5 separate regions of the Homo sapiens genome follow, and all the other regions are linked to region 4. The links are contacts of gene promoters, found by promoter capture Hi-C in blood cells and fetal thymus (Javierre and others, 2016). All regions are on one chromosome and are shown on one strand. Each heading gives the region's core, a stretch centred on a gene start or on the middle of the fragment in contact. The rest is flanking DNA. Distances are from core to core; before and after follow the strand shown.

The links. Contacts are between HindIII fragments. The CHiCAGO score rates a contact against its expected background, and 5 or more counts as called.
Region 1: a fragment that was not itself captured here is called in contact with the fragment with the promoter of UST-AS1 in region 4 in 2 of 17 cell types (naive B cells and total B cells); the score reaches 7.5 in naive B cells.
Region 2: a contact is called between a fragment that was not itself captured here and the fragment with the promoter of UST-AS1 in region 4, in 3 of 17 cell types (naive B cells, megakaryocytes and total B cells). The highest score is 8.2, in naive B cells.
Region 3: a contact is called between a fragment that was not itself captured here and the fragment with the promoter of UST-AS1 in region 4, in 4 of 17 cell types (naive B cells, total B cells, M0 macrophages and 1 more). The highest score is 7.5, in naive B cells.
Region 5: a fragment that was not itself captured here is called in contact with the fragment with the promoter of UST-AS1 in region 4 in 9 of 17 cell types (naive B cells, total B cells, megakaryocytes and 6 more); the score reaches 8.7 in naive B cells.

The regions. Positions count from the first base shown.
Region 1 is chr6:148,646,643-148,650,001 of GRCh38, reverse strand. It overlaps the pseudogene RPSAP40. Among named protein-coding and RNA genes, the nearest start is that of UST, 99 kb to the left of the region's middle. The HindIII fragment of the contact is 811 bases long and covers 1,578-2,388 here.
Region 2 is chr6:148,628,868-148,632,306 of GRCh38, reverse strand. No RefSeq gene overlaps it. Among named protein-coding and RNA genes, the nearest start is that of UST, 120 kb to the left of the region's middle. The HindIII fragment of the contact is 940 bases long and covers 1,156-2,095 here.
Region 3 is chr6:148,699,237-148,702,790 of GRCh38, reverse strand. No RefSeq gene overlaps it. Among named protein-coding and RNA genes, the nearest start is that of UST, 46 kb to the left of the region's middle. The HindIII fragment of the contact is 1,486 bases long and covers 757-2,242 here.
Region 4 is chr6:148,963,319-148,967,041 of GRCh38, reverse strand. UST-AS1 (UST antisense RNA 1) reads left to right here and starts at 2,358. Exons shown (of 3, transcript NR_038408.1): 1 at 2,358-2,481. UST (uronyl 2-sulfotransferase) reads right to left here. Exons shown (of 8, transcript NM_005715.3): 5 at 2,479-2,632. RefSeq lists enhancers at 2,317-2,893, 2,894-3,470. The HindIII fragment of the contact is 7,762 bases long and covers 443-3,723 here.
Region 5 is chr6:148,680,974-148,684,606 of GRCh38, reverse strand. No RefSeq gene overlaps it. Among named protein-coding and RNA genes, the nearest start is that of UST, 64 kb to the left of the region's middle. The HindIII fragment of the contact is 576 bases long and covers 994-1,569 here.

The DNA of each region.
Region 1 (3,359 bases), core at 734-3,233, 320 kb after region 4:
GGATGGAGGGAGAATGATAATCTCCAGCCTTCTTAGCTTGCCTTCTCCTTGTGGAACCTCTGCCCTGGGAATGACAGGGGAGGGACCTGGAGCCCCAGTATTCTCAATCTGCTGGTTCTGAAATAGTATTTCCACCCTATGAGTAGGGTATAAGATGGGAGCCTCAGCCCTTTGGGCTATGTATGATCAGAACTTCTGTATGAAAGAGTTTATGCAGGAGGTCATGTATGATAAGAACAAAGCTTCTCATCATAGGGGAAGTGAGAAACAGCAGCAGCCTGCATTCCCAGGGTGAAGCTGTAGCCCTATTCTGGGACACAGGAGGGAGAGGGATCCCCTGTGTCATATTCTTGGGCTTCACTGCCTGAAGTTGAGTGCCCAGAGCAGTGTTTCCATAAGTCAGAGCTTAGAGAGGGGAGGGAGGAAGCAGTCATGGCTCAGAGGACACTGTTAAAGTCAACTAAATATGGCCTGAGGAGGACTCTGTACTTCTGTATTTGAGTCCTTGTGAACAAACTGCAACCTAGTTTAGTAGGCAGACAAGATTGAAAACCTAACTTAGGAGTATGCACCTGGAGCAATAGCTGAGTCTTGGCCAATCCCAGTGGCTGTACTTCGACCATTTATACACTGCTGAATGTTCAAGCTGTGTTCAAATAAGGCAAACACAAACTTGGAACCAATCCAGTCGTTCTGTACCTCACTTCCAATTTCTGTACATTATTTCCCCTTTTTGTCTATAAATATTCTTCCACTACATGGCTGTGCTGGAGTCTCTGTGAATTTGCTCTAATTCTGTGGGCTGCCCAATTTGAAAATCATTCATTGCTCAATTAAACTCCTTTAAATTTAATTCGGCTAAAGCTTTTCTTTTATCAATACAGACTATGCTGTTACCAAGGATTTAGTAAATTTTCTGGAATAAATATTTCTTCATTTTCTGTATGCCCTCAGAACAATGTGCAGAAACTTAAAAAAAACTATTTTCTTTAACTTCTTTTTTAGTAAAACGATTGTTATGCTTAGTAGGCTGCTGTGCTTCTCACTTCTTCTTTCTGGAAATCTGTTAGCAATCACTGTCAATAGATTCTTGACAAAGATACCAAGGGAATTTAATGGGGGAAAGGATAATTGTTTCAACAGTTGGTGCTGGAACAACTGGATATTTATATGCTAAAAAATTACCCTTGTTTCTTACCTCACACCATAAAGAAAAATTGATTCAAAATAGATAAAGACCTTAAGGTAAGAGTCAACAGCATAAAACTTCTAGAAGACATCAGAGAAAATCCAAGCAGTCACAAGTTAGCTAAAGTTTTCATAATTAGGCTTTCTGGATACCCAGAGGAGGGTCCATATGGCATTGTTCTGGATTCCATTGTAACTTCAAGGGAAACTTTCACAACGTCTGGAGCCCTTGATATCCTGCAAATGAAGGAGGAGGATGTCCTCAAGTTTCTTGCAGCAGGGACCCAATTAGGTGGCATCAACCTCGACTTCCAAATGGAACAGTACACCTATAAAAGGAAAAGTGAAAGCATCTGCTTCCTAAATCTGAACAGGACCTGGGAGAAGCTTCTTCTGGCAGCTGGCGCCATTGTTGCCATTGAAAACTGTGCTGATGTCAGTGTCACGCCCTCCAGAATACTGGCCAGTGGGCTGTGCTGAAGTTTGCTGCTGCCACTGGAGTCACTCCTATTGCTGGCTGTTTCATTGTTTCACTCTTGAAACTTTCACTAACCAGACCCAGGCAGCCTTCTGGGAGCCATGGCTCTTGGCAATTACTGATCCCAGAGCTGACCACCAGCCTCTCACAGAGGTGTCTTATGCTAACCTGCCTACCATTGCTTTGGGTCACACAGATTCTCGTCTGCGCTGTGGACATTGCCATCCCCTGCAACAACAAGGGCACTCACTCAGTGGGTCTGATGTGGAAGATGCCAGCCTGGAAGTTCTGCATATGCATGGCACCATCTCCTGTGAACACCCATAGGAGGTCGTGCCTGATCTCTATGTCTACAGAGATCCCAAGGAGATTAGAAAGAAAGAGCAGGCTGCTGCTAAAAAAGCTGAGGCTAAGGAGGAATTTCAGGGTGAAGGGACTGCCCTGGCTCCTGAGTGTACTGCTACTCAGCCTGAGGTTGCAGCCTGCTTTGAAGGTGTGCAGGTCACACAGGTGCCCCCTGTGTCTGTTCAGCAGGTCCCTACTGAAGACTAGAGCACTCAGCCTGCCATGGAAGACTGGTCCACAGCTCCCACTGCTTGGGCCACTGAATGGGTATGAAAAACCACTGAGTGGTCGGTCTTAAGCCATTTTCCACAGGCTCCTAAGCAAAATGGAAATAAGGTTGTTGGAAAATAAACATCAGTTCTTAAAAAAAAAAAGCTTTTTATAATTAGGACATAAAAGTACAAAGTATAAAATAAAAAAAATTGGATTTCATCAAAAGTAAAAACTCTTGGTCCTCAAAAGAAATTTAAGGATATGAAAAGGTAAGCCACAGACTAACAAAATATTTTCAAATATTTTCAGATACAGAATTTGTATCTGAAATATATAAATAACTCACACAATTCAATAATAAGACAAATAATCCAAATAAAAATGGGCAAAAGATTTAAACAGAAACTTAATCAAATAAGATATAGAGAAGGAAAATAAGCACATAAGATAGATGTTCAACATTGTTGTTTATAAAGGAAATGTAAATCAAAACCACAATGAGATATCACTACACACTCATAAATATGGTTCTAATTAAAAAGGCCAATCATACCTAGTGTTGGTGAGGAAGCAGAGCAATTGGAATGATCATACACTGTGGGAACATAACCTGGAACACCACTGGAAAACTGTCAGTTTTTTAAAAACAAACCTGGCCGGGCACAGTGGCTCATGCCTGTAATCCTAGCAATTTGGGAGGCTTAGGCAGGCAGATTACCTGGGGTCGGGAGTTCAAGACCAGCCTGACCAACATGGTGAAACCCCATCACTACTAAAAATACAAAAATTAGCTGGGCATGGTGGTGCATGCCTGTAATTCCAGCTACTCGGGAGGCTGAGGTAGGAGAATTGCTTGAATCCAGGAGGCAGAGGTTGTAGTGAGCTGAGATCGCACCATTGTACTCATGCACTCATAGCCTGGGCAACAAGAGCAGAAACTCCAAAAAACAAACAAACAAACAAACAAAACCCATAAACCTGTTCTACTATGCTGCCATTTCAATCTTAGGTATTGCCTAAGAGAAATGAAAGCATGTGCCCACACAAAGACTTGTACATAATCTTCATAGCAGCTTTACTCTTAATAGCCCATAACTGGACAGAACCCAAATGTCCATCAACAGGTAAAGGAATA
Region 2 (3,439 bases), core at 376-2,875, 330 kb after region 4:
TCAAAATTAAAAATGTTTGTGCTTTGGCCGGGAGCGGTGGCTCGTGCCTGTAATCCCAGCACTTTGGGAGGCCGAGGCCGGCGGATCACGAGGTCAGGAGATTGAGACCATCGTGGCTAACACGGTGAAACCCCATCTCTACTAAAGATACAAAAAATTAGCTGGGCATGGTGGCGGGCGCCTGTAGTCCCAGCTACTCAGGAGGCTGAGGCAGGAGAATGGCATGAACCCCGGAGGCGGAGCTTGCAGTGAGCCGAGATCGCGCCACTGCACTCCAGCCTGGGAGGCAGAGCGAGACTTCGCCTCAAAAAAAATAAATAAATAAAAATAAAAAAATAAAATTGTGCTTCAAAAGACATCATCAATAAAATGAAAAGATATGGCTCAGACTGGAAGAAAATATTCGCTAATCATGTAGCTGTTAAATCAAATTTAGCCTAAAGCTGCCTCCTTCATATTTTAAGTTTGGCCTAAGGGTTTCTCTGTACCTCCTGAGCTATAGTGTATCGTAGCCTGAATGGAGTTGTATACAGACTGTAGCCACCACTTGTGCCAATCACTGAGTTTTGGCCAATCAAAGGTGGCCAGCTGTTCAAACTGTGTTCAAATAAGGCAAAGACGGAGCTGTAACCAATCCAGCTGTTTCTGTACCTAACTTCTGTTTTCTGTACCTTGCTTTCCTTTCTCTGTCCATAAATCTTCTTCCACCATGTGTCTGTGCTGGAGTCTCTGAGCCTACCCTGGCTCAGGAGACTGTCCAATTCGCAAATCGTTCTTTGCCCAATTAAACTGTTAAATTTAATTTTGTTACATTTTTAAAAAACATGTCTGATAAAGAAATATATCAGGGACTCTCATAGTTCAATAATCAGATTAAGAACCCAATTACAAAATGCACAAAAGATTTGACCATATGTGAATGATCACTGAGCACGTGAAAATGTGCTCAACCACATCAGTCATGAGGGAAATTAGGACTACAATGAGATACCACTACATACACACCCACTAGAAAAACTGTAATCAGAAAGACTAACAATACCAACTGAAGGATGTGAAGCAACTAAAACAATCATACATTGCGTGTGGAAATGTAAAATGGTACAACCACTTGGAAAATAATTTAGCAGTTCCTTAAAAAGTTAAATATAAGCTTTTCATATGACACAGCAATTCCACTCCTAAGGATATATTCAAGAGAACAGGAATATATTTCTACCCGAAGACTTATACACAGACGTTCATAGCGGCATTGTTTCTATTAACCTCAAACTGGGAACAATCCAAATGTCTGTCAGTTGGTGGTTGGATAACATAATGCAGTATATCCATACAATGGGCTATTCAGCAATAAAAAGAACATATTGATACACAGTTAACATGGATGGACCTCAAAAACACCAGTGAAAGAAGTGAAAGAAGCCATGCATGAAAGACTGCAAAATTGTATGTTTCTATTTATTTAAAATATCCAGGACTGGGTGCTGTGGCTCACGCCTGTAATCCAGCACTTTGGGAGGCCAAGGCAGGTTGGTCACTTTAGGTCCGGAGTTCAAGACCAGCCTGGCCAACATGCTGAAACCCCTGACTCTACTAAAAATACAAAAAATAGCCCAGCGTGCTGGCACATGCCTGTAATCCCAGCTACTTGGGAGGCTGAGGCAGGAGAATCGCTTGAACCTGGGAGGCAGAGTTTGCAGTAAGCCAAGATCGCACCAAAAAATAAAATAAAAATAAGATATCCAGAAAAGGCACACTTAAGGAGACAGAAAGCAAACCGGTGGTTGCCTATGGCTGAAATATGGAAGCAGAGATGAACTGCAAATGGGCAGGAGGAAACTTTTTGGGGTGTTGGAAATGTCTTAATACTGGATTGTGGTAATGGCTTTATAAGTAAATTTACTACAAATCACTGAATTGTACACTTACCATGGGTGATTGTTATGGTGTGGAAATTTTGCCTCAACAAAGCTGCTTTAAAAATTGAAAATGATGCAGGTCAAAACCTACTAAATTGATGTCTTGACTCACTAATGGCTCATGAGCTGTTGTGGTAACATTGCCTAATTTTACAGTAAGGAAACTCTCCTAAGCTTCTCACTGGAAGTTCTTAAACTTAAGAAGTTAAAATTCTTAAACTTAAGATCCTTAAGCTCTCTTCACTTCTTGCCTTAACTGGAACTAAGATACCAGTTTTATCTGCCAATGCTATGTCCAGATCTCCTGCAAACATAGGCTCACATCCTTCCGTGAAGTTCCTACAGCAGGGGTTTTCCCTCCTCTTCCCCCTTCTCGCATCTAATTAATGGCAACATTCTCCAGTGGTACTTACTTAATCTTACTGGCTTCTCTTTACTTCTACTCCTCAGACTTATTGTCTCTTGCCTTGATTACTGAAACAACTTTTATTTGGTTGCTTTGACTCTAATCTTCTTTACAAGAGACATGCCCTTCCAAAGCACAATCTTTACATGCTAGTCCCTGTTTAAACATTTTAATGGCTTCCAGTGCCCACAGGATGAAGTCTCAACTCCTTAGCAAGGCAAACAGTGTCTGGCAGACAATGATTGATAAAATTTGTTGAAAGAGAAAATGAATGTGTCTCGTGTCATTGATTTTTCTTTTACTTTCATTCTATCTATTTGTAAGTATGGGTGTCTCCCCTACAAATAAAACTCTCCTCTAGAACAAGGATTTGTGTGTTTAAACTCATTTGTCTTCCCCAGCCCCCAGCACAATGTACTTCACACAGTGGGAATCTGATGTGCATTTGTGAGTGGATACATGGAAGAGTACTTCTTGAAGAGCTGTGTTAGGACCCAAGAGTTGCTGGCTCTCCAGGATGCTCTTGGCTTTGGTGTAACCTGCAAAGCAAACAAGAGGCTCCTAGTACAATATGCAAACTCAATGAATGTTCTACATTCCTGAAATCTGCCTGGGGACTCATCATTCAGGCATTGTTTTGACTTAGGAGAGTTGATGAGCTCGGTTCTGGACTCCATTCAGCAGCCTCCTCTTGCCAGCACTCCTAGAATCTTCCAGAGAGGAGGAGGAACACATGTAGCATTTATATTGAATGTAGAGATTTAACAGATACCATCCACATGTGTGGTAATAGTTTTTATCCCAAATGTCACTAGAAAGGCTTTGTCCATCTCATCAAGCCTGGAAAAATGACAAATTTGTGTTACAGAAAGTAGTAAAGGAAAACGTCTCGTTGTCCTTTCCTTTCTATCATCTTGAAAATAAACACTGTCGATGTACATCTTCTTGGTTCACTGCTAAAATAATGAAGCACCTTGATGAATTCCTCTGCTGCCTATGTCTAAAAGGATCATATTCCTTTTATTCTAAAAGTTTGGCGGAGGCATTTTTCAAAAGATGAGCTGGATAACTATTTCTTACACAAAGCTCTTAAAAGAAAAAAAATTACCATTAC
Region 3 (3,554 bases), core at 250-2,749, 260 kb after region 4:
AACAATGAACAACTGGAATTTGAAATTAAGAAATAATGCCATTTACATTCACACCAAAAAATGGGTATAAATCTAACAAAATATGTATAAGATTTATATGATAAAAGCTATAAACCTCTGATGAAAGAAACCAAAGAATATATGAATAAATGGAGAGATACACCATGGACATGGATAAGATTTAATATTGTCAAATATCCCTTCTTCCCAACTGGATCTATAGATTAAATGAAATTACAATCCAAATACCAGTAAAGGTTTAAAAATTTTTTTTAATTTTGACAAACTAGTTCTAAAGTTTGTATGGAAAGGCAAAAGACCCAGAATAGCCAACCCAGTATTGGGTTTCATTAAGTAAGAAAGAAAAGAATACAATCAGAGGCCTTACACTATCCAACTCCAGGAAGTACTATAAAGCTACAATAATCAAGACAGCATGGTATTGGTGAAAGAATAGACAGATAAGTGGAGCAGAGTACAGAGCCTAGAAATAGATCCAAACAAATAAGGTCAACTGATATTTGATGAATGAGAAAAGTCAATTTAGTGGAAAAAAGATAGTCTTTTCCACAAACGGTGTGTGGGAGTGGGGAAGGTGAATATAGGAGCTCTGTATTTTCTGCCCAGTTTTTCTGTAAGCCTAAAATTGCTAAAAGAAATGAAGTCTATTAATTTTTTAAAAATCGATTCCAAAGAAAGGGTAAAGGGAGAGATATAATCATATAACCATATAAACTTTGGGGTAAGACAGAAGCTTTGACATTAAACACATGAACACACTAGAAGAGGCTTAAATACATGAAAAAAAATACTAGGAACATCTATATTTTGTAGTAGATTGGGTCAAACCCCAAAATGGCAGGAAAAGAAGCAGCCAGAAAGGAAAATAACATACCCACTCAAAATAAATGAAAAATAACAACCACTACAAGGCAATCAAATGAGTATTCTAAAGGGCCATGATATAAGCAAAAACACAAATAAGCCTTAAAAAAATCACCCTCACTGAGACTGTGTACAAGCTGGGTCAACAGCCCACTATACAGGTGTCCTATGAAAACCAATTACAGCAGCCCTTTCCAGCTCAGGGGATGCTTCCTGAGCCTTTGCCTCAATCTCAGTAGAATATTTGAAAACCTAGAGGACTCTGGAGCCAGACAGAGCATGTTCCAAGTCTGGATTCCCATGTACTAATGGATGCTCTTGGGCAGAAAATAACCTCTCAAAGACCGTAAACCAGGGCAGTCAAGCAGAGACTTGGCGTCCAGGCCCTCTGGTCACACTGCATGGGTCAAATTCTAGTTCTGTCTCTCCATGGAGGTGAGACCATGAGAATCCAATGAGAAAATAAACATGCATTTTGGCCGTTCATCTGATCTGGTTTCTACTCCATTGCTTACCACATAGATTCTTTCTATGGTTGGCCCCCTTGCATTGCCAGTTCATTTGGACAAGACAGATGATATTATTTTCGTTTCACACCCAGGATGCTGCCTCTTGTCTCTCTTTCATCCTTTCATACAATGCTGCTTCTGTCTCCTGCCCAGGTCTCCGGGTCTCCGAATTCCAGCCAAGAATCAGTGTGCTGATGCTGCTTGCTTTGAAAAGGAGAGTAGCTCCTGTGAACTGAACCTAACACACCAGAATCAAGGCAGCATCATTGTATCTGCAAGATTAGGGTAACAATTATTTACAACTCAGTAGGAAAAGATAAAGAAAACATTCTCTATGTAGTGGCAATGTGGAAGTTCAAACAAAATGAAAATGAAACTAACTTATTTACACAAATAAGAGCCCTAGGCGGTTACTGACAGGCAGCTATGCAGGTCGTGACATAGGCAATGCGTATTGAACAGGCTCCTGAATCTAAGGAAAGTGGGGGGAATACGGCCTCTCTGCCTCTGGCTGCGGGACTACACAGCTGGCAGCCGACAGTAGGAGCAATTTTGCATCTGCTTTTTTACAGCCCAGTGACTGGGCAGGATTTTATGGCCAATAGCAGTAAAAATCTGGCAACTATATATTTGGAGCCCAGAAATTGAATCACCAAAACAATCCAGGGAAAAAAAAATAGAAAAGTGGTAGAAATGAAATTCACCCAATCATTAGAAAATAAGACAAGAGTATTTTTAAAATATAGAAGTTTGGGACAAGGGCAAAGTTTGGCTCTAAAACAGAAAGGGAATTTTTTAAAATGCAAAAAGGCTTGGGGAAAGGAGCACCATGGAGCATTTCCAAAGCTTTAGGGAATGAATGAGACGTATTTCAGAAAAACCCAAAATTGCACAATTGCTTTTGGGAATTAATACAAGATTAAATTAGAGATGTAAAAATAAAGGAACAATGAAAACAGAGTGACTAATTTCTCTGTATGTGAAATAAATATTTGCTTTCTTAAGGGAAGAAAAGAAAAAAGAATGAAAAAAATCACAAGTATTCAAGGAGAAGACTTTTTATTAAAAAAAAAAAACTTACAGCACTAAAAACTATCCCAATATTTATTAACATCCAGCTAATTAAAATCATGACACTAGAGGTCAGCCTCCTAATTCTGAACAAATTATATTTACTATACTATCATATCAGTGAAGTTTATAAGCAGCAGGTCCATGAAGTCATTGCCATTATTATTTTAATTATTGGTAATAACGGTAGTAGATGTTGCTTTTTAGTGAAGAACTAGGTTAGCAGAGTAAAAGGTCTGACCTAGATTCTCTGAACTATTGTCAAGAGTATTTGCTCATGTCAGAAGAATTTTTAACATCTAAATAATTTATTTAGAAGAGAAATTTCTTGTTGAATAATCACATTTTAACAGCCTACTCTCAAAGTTCAAGAATTTTCTCTCTGCCTAGCATTTCTGAGTACAGACTCTGATACCAGGATTCCTGGGCTCAAATCCTACCTGTTTCTGATTTGTTGCCCAACCTTAGGCAAATCACCCATTCGCTGCACCTGTTTCTTCATCCATAACCTCAGGGTGTTAATAGCATGTACTCTATAAGGTTGCTGTGAAGATGAAGAGAGTTAACATAGGGGAGGATCCTTGGAAGCCAGGGGAGGATCCTTGGAAGCCAGAAGTTTGAGACCAGTCTAGACAACAAAGTGAGACCCCTCATTTCTACAAAAAACTTTAAAAAAAATTAGCCAGATGCAATGGCACATGCCTATAATCCCAGCTGCTCAGGAGGCTGAAGCAGGAGGATCACTTGAGCCCATGAGCCCAGGAGTTCGAGGCTGCAGTGAGCTATGATCGCACCACCCGCACTCTAGCCTGGAGATAGGCCTTGCCTTTGAAAAAAAAGAGCAAGACCCTGTCTTTGAAAAAAAAAAAAACAACTCAAAATATGTAAATCCTTTAGAGAAGTGAACAAAGTAACTGAAGGGTCAAAAAAAGAAGAGCAGTAGATCATGGATTTAACTGCTTAAGAAATACCTCTCCAACCCACCCCTTTCACCCTGAGCCCATGCGTGGTGCCCAAGAAGTCCAGATATTCTCCCATGCCCTAGCAGGGTCTGCAGTAGATCTTCCAGGAAGTGCTCCAGAGGAAGCC
Region 4 (3,723 bases), core at 1,109-3,608:
ACCAGGCTGGGCACGGTGGCTCACACCTGTAATCTCAGCACTTTGGGAGGCTGAGGTGGGTGGATCATTTTAGGTCAGGAGTTCGAGACCAGCCTGGCCAACATGGTGAAACCCCCGCCTCTACTAAAAATACAAAAATTAACCAGGCGTGGTGGGAAGCACCTGTAGTCCTAGCTGCTGGGGAGGCTGAAGCAGGAGAATCGCTTGAACCCCGGAGGTGGAGGTTGCAGTGAGCAGAGATCTTGCCACTGCGCTCCAGCCTGGGCAACAGAGCAAGACTGTGTCTCAAAACAAAAACAAAAACGAACAAATGGAAACTCCAAACCATAATTTTTTCCCCTCACATTTGCCACCTTTCTCTCTAATGATTGCAGCTTATTATTTGTGTGAGTGTGTGAAAACTGCATTATATGAAATGATTTACAGGATGGCAACAGAAGCTTGACAGAACGGAAGAAGCTAGAGCATTCCTCTTAACTCTTACATTAATATTTGAAGAGTAGTGTTCATAAGACGTGTTTCTGTATTGTTGGTTTTTTGGCATTTTCTGCTGTCCTTTGGTTCTAACTTTCTTAGCATGAGGATTGAATCAGAACTATGAAAAAATTGTCTGGATTAAATGGAATGTATGCTGTTTTTAAAGAGCATATAGATATATTAATCAAGATCCAAAACAAATAATAAAGATAATTAGAGAAGACATTATTCTTGTAGTGTTTCTATACTCTGAATACACGTCTCACCAAATAAAAAACATATAGTCATATTCATAACCTATAGTTTTTTATTTTATTTAATTATTATTATTATTATTTTTTGAGATGGAGTCTCGGTCTGGCACCTAGGCTGGAGTGCAGTAGCACGATCTTGGCTCACTGCAACCTCTGCCTCCCGGATTCAAAGGATTCTCCTGCCTCAGCCTCCCAATTCGCTGGGATCACAGGCATGCGCCACCATGCTCGGCTAATTTTTGTATTTTTAATAAAGACAGGTTTTCACCATGTTGGCCAGGCTGGTCTCGATCTCCTGGCCTCAAGTGATGCACCTGCCTCGGCCTCCCAAAGTGCTGGGATTACAGGCGTGAGCCACTGCGCCCGGCCTCATAACCTATAAAGAAATAGATTAGGGTTTCGCCATAAAAACTAAAAAAAAAAAAAAAAAAAAAGGGAAAAGCCACTTTTAAAATATATCATCAAAGGAAGAAAATAAAAATAAAAATAAAATCATCAAAATATTTCACTGAAGCCTTAGGTAGTTGATCAAATACCGAAGGTGAGTGGAAAGCCGTGGGTCTGGTGTAGTCGTCTGGCCCTGGCTGAGACACTAACTTCTCTGTATCTCAGTTTTCTCTACTCTAATCATGGATTTGAAAACATGAACGTGACACTGAGGGGACATCATCCCCAAATGCTCCCAGCCTCTGAACATCCACTTCCATTATGTTTTTAAAATGAGATGAGGAAGCAGCCGTCCTGGCCGTGGCCCTGAGATTCGGTGCTTTTCTCCAGCGGCAAGGCTGCTGCTGACGGCACATCAGCAGTGGCCTCAGCTCTGGGCGATCTTCCAGCTTTGGGAACAACACCTCTGACTGATCCTCAACACTTCCTACTTTCCTGCTTGTGCCCGACAACAGCCCAGGATGGGTCCGGGTGAACCCCAAGGGCTCTCTCAGACACAGAGACCAGGATTTCAGCCTCCTGGGCACCAGGCTGTCAGCTCCTCAGTACATGTTTCTCAACACAGGGATGGGAAATGTACCTTTCGTTCTAGTGCTGAAAGAAAGACGCGCAACTCCGCCCTCCGTTTTTGTTACCAACCTCTGTGCTGCGGAAATAATTACTGGGCTCGAGACTAACATCCCTTATGGAGCTGAGGGTCCCAAAACAAGTCCAGAGAAAGCAAACAATTACTGGTGCAATGACAGGGTTCTATCGCGCTGTGGTGGAAAGAACCCAGACTGTGAAGGCAGGAAACCCGAAACAGTCGGTCGCAGTTGCGCCCTTACCTGAGAGGTGACTGTGGCAAATCCCACAACCTTTAGAATCTCAGGGTCCTCATCTGAAAACACCTCCCCCTCCCAGAGTGGTCATGGGAACTGAATGGGCTGAGGGATGAGAAGGGGCTCTGCCGCCCTCTAACAGACACCCCCCCAACACCTTTGTTCTTCTTAAGCACTACAGTGCTAGTCAGGACTCCTTAGGAAAGACTGTTAACGCTCTGGGTCCCAAAACCTAGCACTAAAGACAACTGAGCAAAGCAAAATCAGAAAATAATTTGAGGAAATGTTCATTAGGATCTGGGTCACCCGGAACCAGTTTCTCTCGCCAAGACCTCCTTCCTGCGGAAGCACCCTCTCTGCGCCACGCTCCATGGAGGCGCCAAGGAGAAGGCCTGGGAAGGGAAGAGTGAACCTTCCCTGGTGGAGGGCCCACTCCTCAGGCAGTGGGGAGACCGCCTTTTGCATGCGACAGGACTTACCAGGTAGCGCTCCTCCTGCCTCATGCTGGGGGTGCGGATCATGTGATTTTGTTCCCCTCTCCAGTCTCCAAAGCGACGGAAAAAATAGTTGGATAAGAACCGGTTGACGGGGTCTCTAATGATGTTGATGTAGACAGGCTGGTCTCCTCCAAACCTAACACAAACATTGAGTTCGTTACAACCCATCACTGCAGGACGAAAACAGGGCCTACTTAGACAACATCTCCCCTTCCCTCTAGGTTAACTTATTGAAAGATGACCTCCTATGCTAAGGTGCCAATGACACGTAATAAGCAAACGGTGTTTCCTGATAAGCATTTTATTATCATGCAGGAAGTGGGGAGGATGATACCTGTTCCAGGTACCTGTTGAGGGGCTGTGAGGACATTTCATAGTATAGCACGGTACAAACCACACCATTGTGCATGTTAAGGAAGAGATGGTGTCTAGTTTTCTCACCAGGCTGTAGGTTTCTTGAGGATGGGGGCCACTCTGTATTGGATTTAGTATTTCCAATGGCTAGAACAGAACCCACAGGGACACAATTGGCCCTCGGTGAATGTTTCAGTTGATTGGTAGGTTCTGACTGCCTTGCTGGGTGAGACGGCACTTCCTCTATATTGTAATTCAAACAGTTCCGGGTCAGGTGCTCTGCAGTAAGGGAGTGAATAACAGCCAGTCTTCACTGAGCACTCGCTATTCACCTTGTTCTAAATACCTCATGTAACCAGCTTGCTGAAGCCCCATAACACGTCAATGGAGTAGAAAAAATAATTATCCTCATTTACACTTGGGGAAACTGAGGCAGGAATAAGGTTCATAACTTGTAGCTGAACTAGGATATGGGTCCAGGCAATCTGGCTCTAGAATCTATGCTCTTAATTATGGAAAAGTGATTTCTGGAGTTGAGGAAATTTTGTGTGGGATATCAAGAATGAAACAAAATTCAACATAATTATCCTCAAGTGATGGCAAGTGGCTTCAGATAAAAATAAAGCAAATAGCCAGGTGTTCCATTTTAATTCCTTCCATGAAAGGATTAGATGAATCCACTAAATCTTGGCCCAAGAACAAGGTCTTCCCGAAGCAGAGTGATGAGATTGGCTGGATTTCTCTTAATGATTCCTTCTTTTTCTCTTTGAACTGCTTGAAAGCAGTAGCCTTGAGGAGTTCGGGGAGAGTGCCCCAGTCTCTGGGCAGAGGGCATGCTCTGGTGACCTCCTGAGGGGCCTGCAGGGTTCTCTA
Region 5 (3,633 bases), core at 32-2,531, 280 kb after region 4:
AGGGTCCTTGGGAGCAGACTGCTCTGCTGGCCCTGGCCCTGCCCCTGCAGGATATCACCCCTGATGCTGCCTCAGGAGAGCCCCACCCAGATTCTGCAGGGCCCACCACACCCTCCAGACCTGGTGGTCTCCTTCTGGGTAGTGCTGCTGTAGGCACAGACCTCTGCCTACGACCACAGCTTCAGCTGCCACCAGCGATGCCTGGGAAGCTTCCAGGTACCAACACTGTCTGCTGGCCACTGTCCCCTTCCCTATCTCTCTCATATCACATTCCTTTAGGGAATTACCCAAGCAAAGCAAGTATATCCCAGTGTTAGCCTAAATAAATAAATAAATGCTCCAATTATGACTTACAGCCCCTTCTCTTCCTAGAACCCAGATGTAGAGTCTTGTGTACTGATGACAGATCTGTGAAACTGGCACAACACTGTGCTCCAAATTCCTCCCCACCGTTGACCACGAAGCCTCTATGGCGGTATCAAGCTGGTTGTGCCCGGTTCCTTCTTCCCTTAGGATGAATTACCTCCTAGGAACCTCCTTAGCCTCTGGAAATAGGCTTTCATCATCTCATCCTACCTGCCCACCAGACGTAACCGGAAGTGTCTAAATCCCAGGAGTGGCTGCAGTTCTGCCTCAGGTAAGACCTCTCTTCCTTTGAAAAGAACAAAGTCCATTTGAGACTGAGAATGGGATGACATGCTTCTGGACAGTTGCATGTGGGGAGCATCTCGTGGTATTTACAGACGTGAGGTATGAAGAATGCAGAGGGAATGAAGGAGCCTTAGCCAGGCCCTAAACTAAAAAACAACAAAACTAACTTCTAAGTAAATGAAACTTACCCTGTTGCTCTCACCTAAGTGAGAATGGTTGGTGGTTTTAAAGTATATTTCAATGGCTCTTTACCCAGCATGTATTTTGCTAAATTTTATACTAAAGTTATAGGTTAGCTTTGACATGATTGCAAATTTGTTTTCTAAGCTATTCTAGGAAGCTTAATTATGGAGCCCTAAAGGAAGTTGAAACTTCCCTGTGCAATTTATAAAAATCTACTTGTAATTTAATGTACAAGCACATTACAATGTAAGTATAATCTACAATGTATACTTAACACACCACACACGGTGCACATATCTGCATATTACAACATACAGAGCGTATCCTATAGGGACCATTCTTGAGATTTGGGGTGCTGACTAATCATACTCTTGCTCTCCTCTGGGTTCTAATCAGTTTGCTGTGTAAACAGGAGACAGATGGGAGGTCACAGAGTGCCAAAGGGTTAGGGGGAGAGTGAGGCTTCCTTCTTCTCCCCCGGCTGAATCTGACTTCCCCTCGCAGCCACAGACAATGCGGCTGGGGAGTTTCAGTCAGGAGAGGCCCTTCCTGCTGAGCTCACCACGAGGGAAGGTGAAATGGGAGGAGGTGGAGATGTGGACCTGCTCCCTGGTGTTGGATTCCACTTCTGCTTTGGCTCAGTTCAGAGCCTGTTGGACTCTTCCATCTGTCCAGTTAAGAAAGTAACTTCTTCCAAAAAGAGGAACTAGTAGAGGAAGAAAGAATTGAGAAGCTTCCTGATTTAGTACGTCCTGAAGATAGTGACCATATTGGGGGAGAGGGAGGAAGCTCTTATTTTAGGCATTAAAATGAGTGTAAGAAAATAAAAGTGCCTTCCTTTAGGAGAGGCAGAACTAGTTTTTAATATTTTATGGAAGCTACTGGAGAGTTAGCATAAGCTGTAGAGAGGTCATCTTTAAAGCAAACATGGTATAATAAGCCATATCTTAAAATGTAATTTTAAACTTAGACCAAACTATTCTATTTTAAATTGGGACTTTTTAATAACAGAATTCTGTCCAGTTTTTTATGATCACATGTGCACATGTACACGTGCACACGGGAACACACACACGAATAGGCAAAATAATGAAAGGATATCCACAAAGACAGCTCTGTGTGAAATTCAATGTGGCATTGTTTTTATCTTTTGGTTTATCAATTTTTTTCCCTGAGATTTCCAAAATGTTACTTTTCTAATAAGAGAAAAAATGTGTGTGTGTGCGAGTGTGTGTGTGCGTGGTGTGTGTCCATGCACGCATGTGTGCTTGCACACACGTGTGTACGTTCACATGTGCCTGTGTGTGTGTGTGTCCACGTGTGTGCTTGTGTGCACGTGAGCCTGTGTGTGCATGTGTGTGTATGCACGTGTGTGTGCACGCACGTGTGTGTGTTTAAATAAACAATTCTGTAGCTCCTGAGCATATTCTGGCCTGATGCGTAACAGCAGGAATAAACAAAGTCAAACCATCGCTGTCCTGGGGAAACCTTGGCGGCGGATGAAGGACTGGGAAGAGTAGCAAGGCTAAAGCCAGCAAAATTAAAGCAAGACAAGTCCTTGATTCCTAGAGAATGAGGCATGAGGACAAGTGACCTAATATCGGTCACATGTCCCCATAAGACACATGGAAGTACATTAAAAAACTGTGAAGAAAATTAAAGCAAGTAAGTGATGACAGCTAAATTCATTCTGATTGTTGGCATTTTGGGATGTTTATAAGTTGGGCTTTTATAGCTGGTGGATTTCACCAAAATATTGTTAGATGGCAATAGTTCATTTAATTCTTTATTTTTTCCATGTTAAAGTCATAGTTTTAACTTAAAACATTAGGGGGGAATCAAAGAGATGTTGGTAAAAGGGTATAAAATTTCAGTTAGACAGGAGGAATAAGTTCAAGAGATCTGTTGTGCAACATGGTGACTGTAGCTAATAATGCATTGCATACTTGAAAAGTGAACGCCTTCACCACCAAAAAAATGATAAATATGTGAGGAAATGGATATGTTCAATAGCTTGATTTAGCCATTCTACAATGTACACATATATCAAAACATCATGTCATACCCCATAATGTATACAATTTTTATTTGTCAATTTTAAAATTTTTTAAGAAGATAAATTTAGAAATGTACATTTAAGACCTTATTTTTACAAGTGTACTTTTATTATGAAATATACAAATATAGCAAGAAGGAATAAATTTACCCTATTTCAGACACAACCACTGTTAATATTTTGGTGTAAATTCTGTGGCCAAGGATATTGTCTTCCTGCAAGAACTTGATTCTAAGCCACAGATACATGTCTTATATGGTGATGGCAAGGTAAAGGAGAGAAGATAGAAGAATACAGATGAAGGACAGATCAGGCAAAGCAGATTCTCTTCAAGTAGAAGCTGCTGATAACTTTTCTGCCCTTAATTTAATAATATATTCATGACAAAGAGATAATTGTCTTGGTTGATTTTACTATAGTTGTCCTATGCACAGACACATCATGTAGGGGGAAGACAGTGAGCTTGAGCTTGCTAGAACTTCAGTTCCAGACCTACCACTCACGATTCTGCGTCCTTGGGAAAGACTTAGATTGTTACTTAAACAATCTGAGTCTTGTTTTCTCGTCTGTAAAATGGAATTACCAATGCCTATTTCAAATGGCAGTTGAGAGAATGAAATATTGGATACATAGTACTTCCACATACTTTTTTTTTTTTTTTTTGAGAGAGGGTCGTGTTCTGTTGTTCAGGCTGGAGTGTAATGGTGCAATCACAGCTTACTGAAGCCTTGGACTCCTGGGCC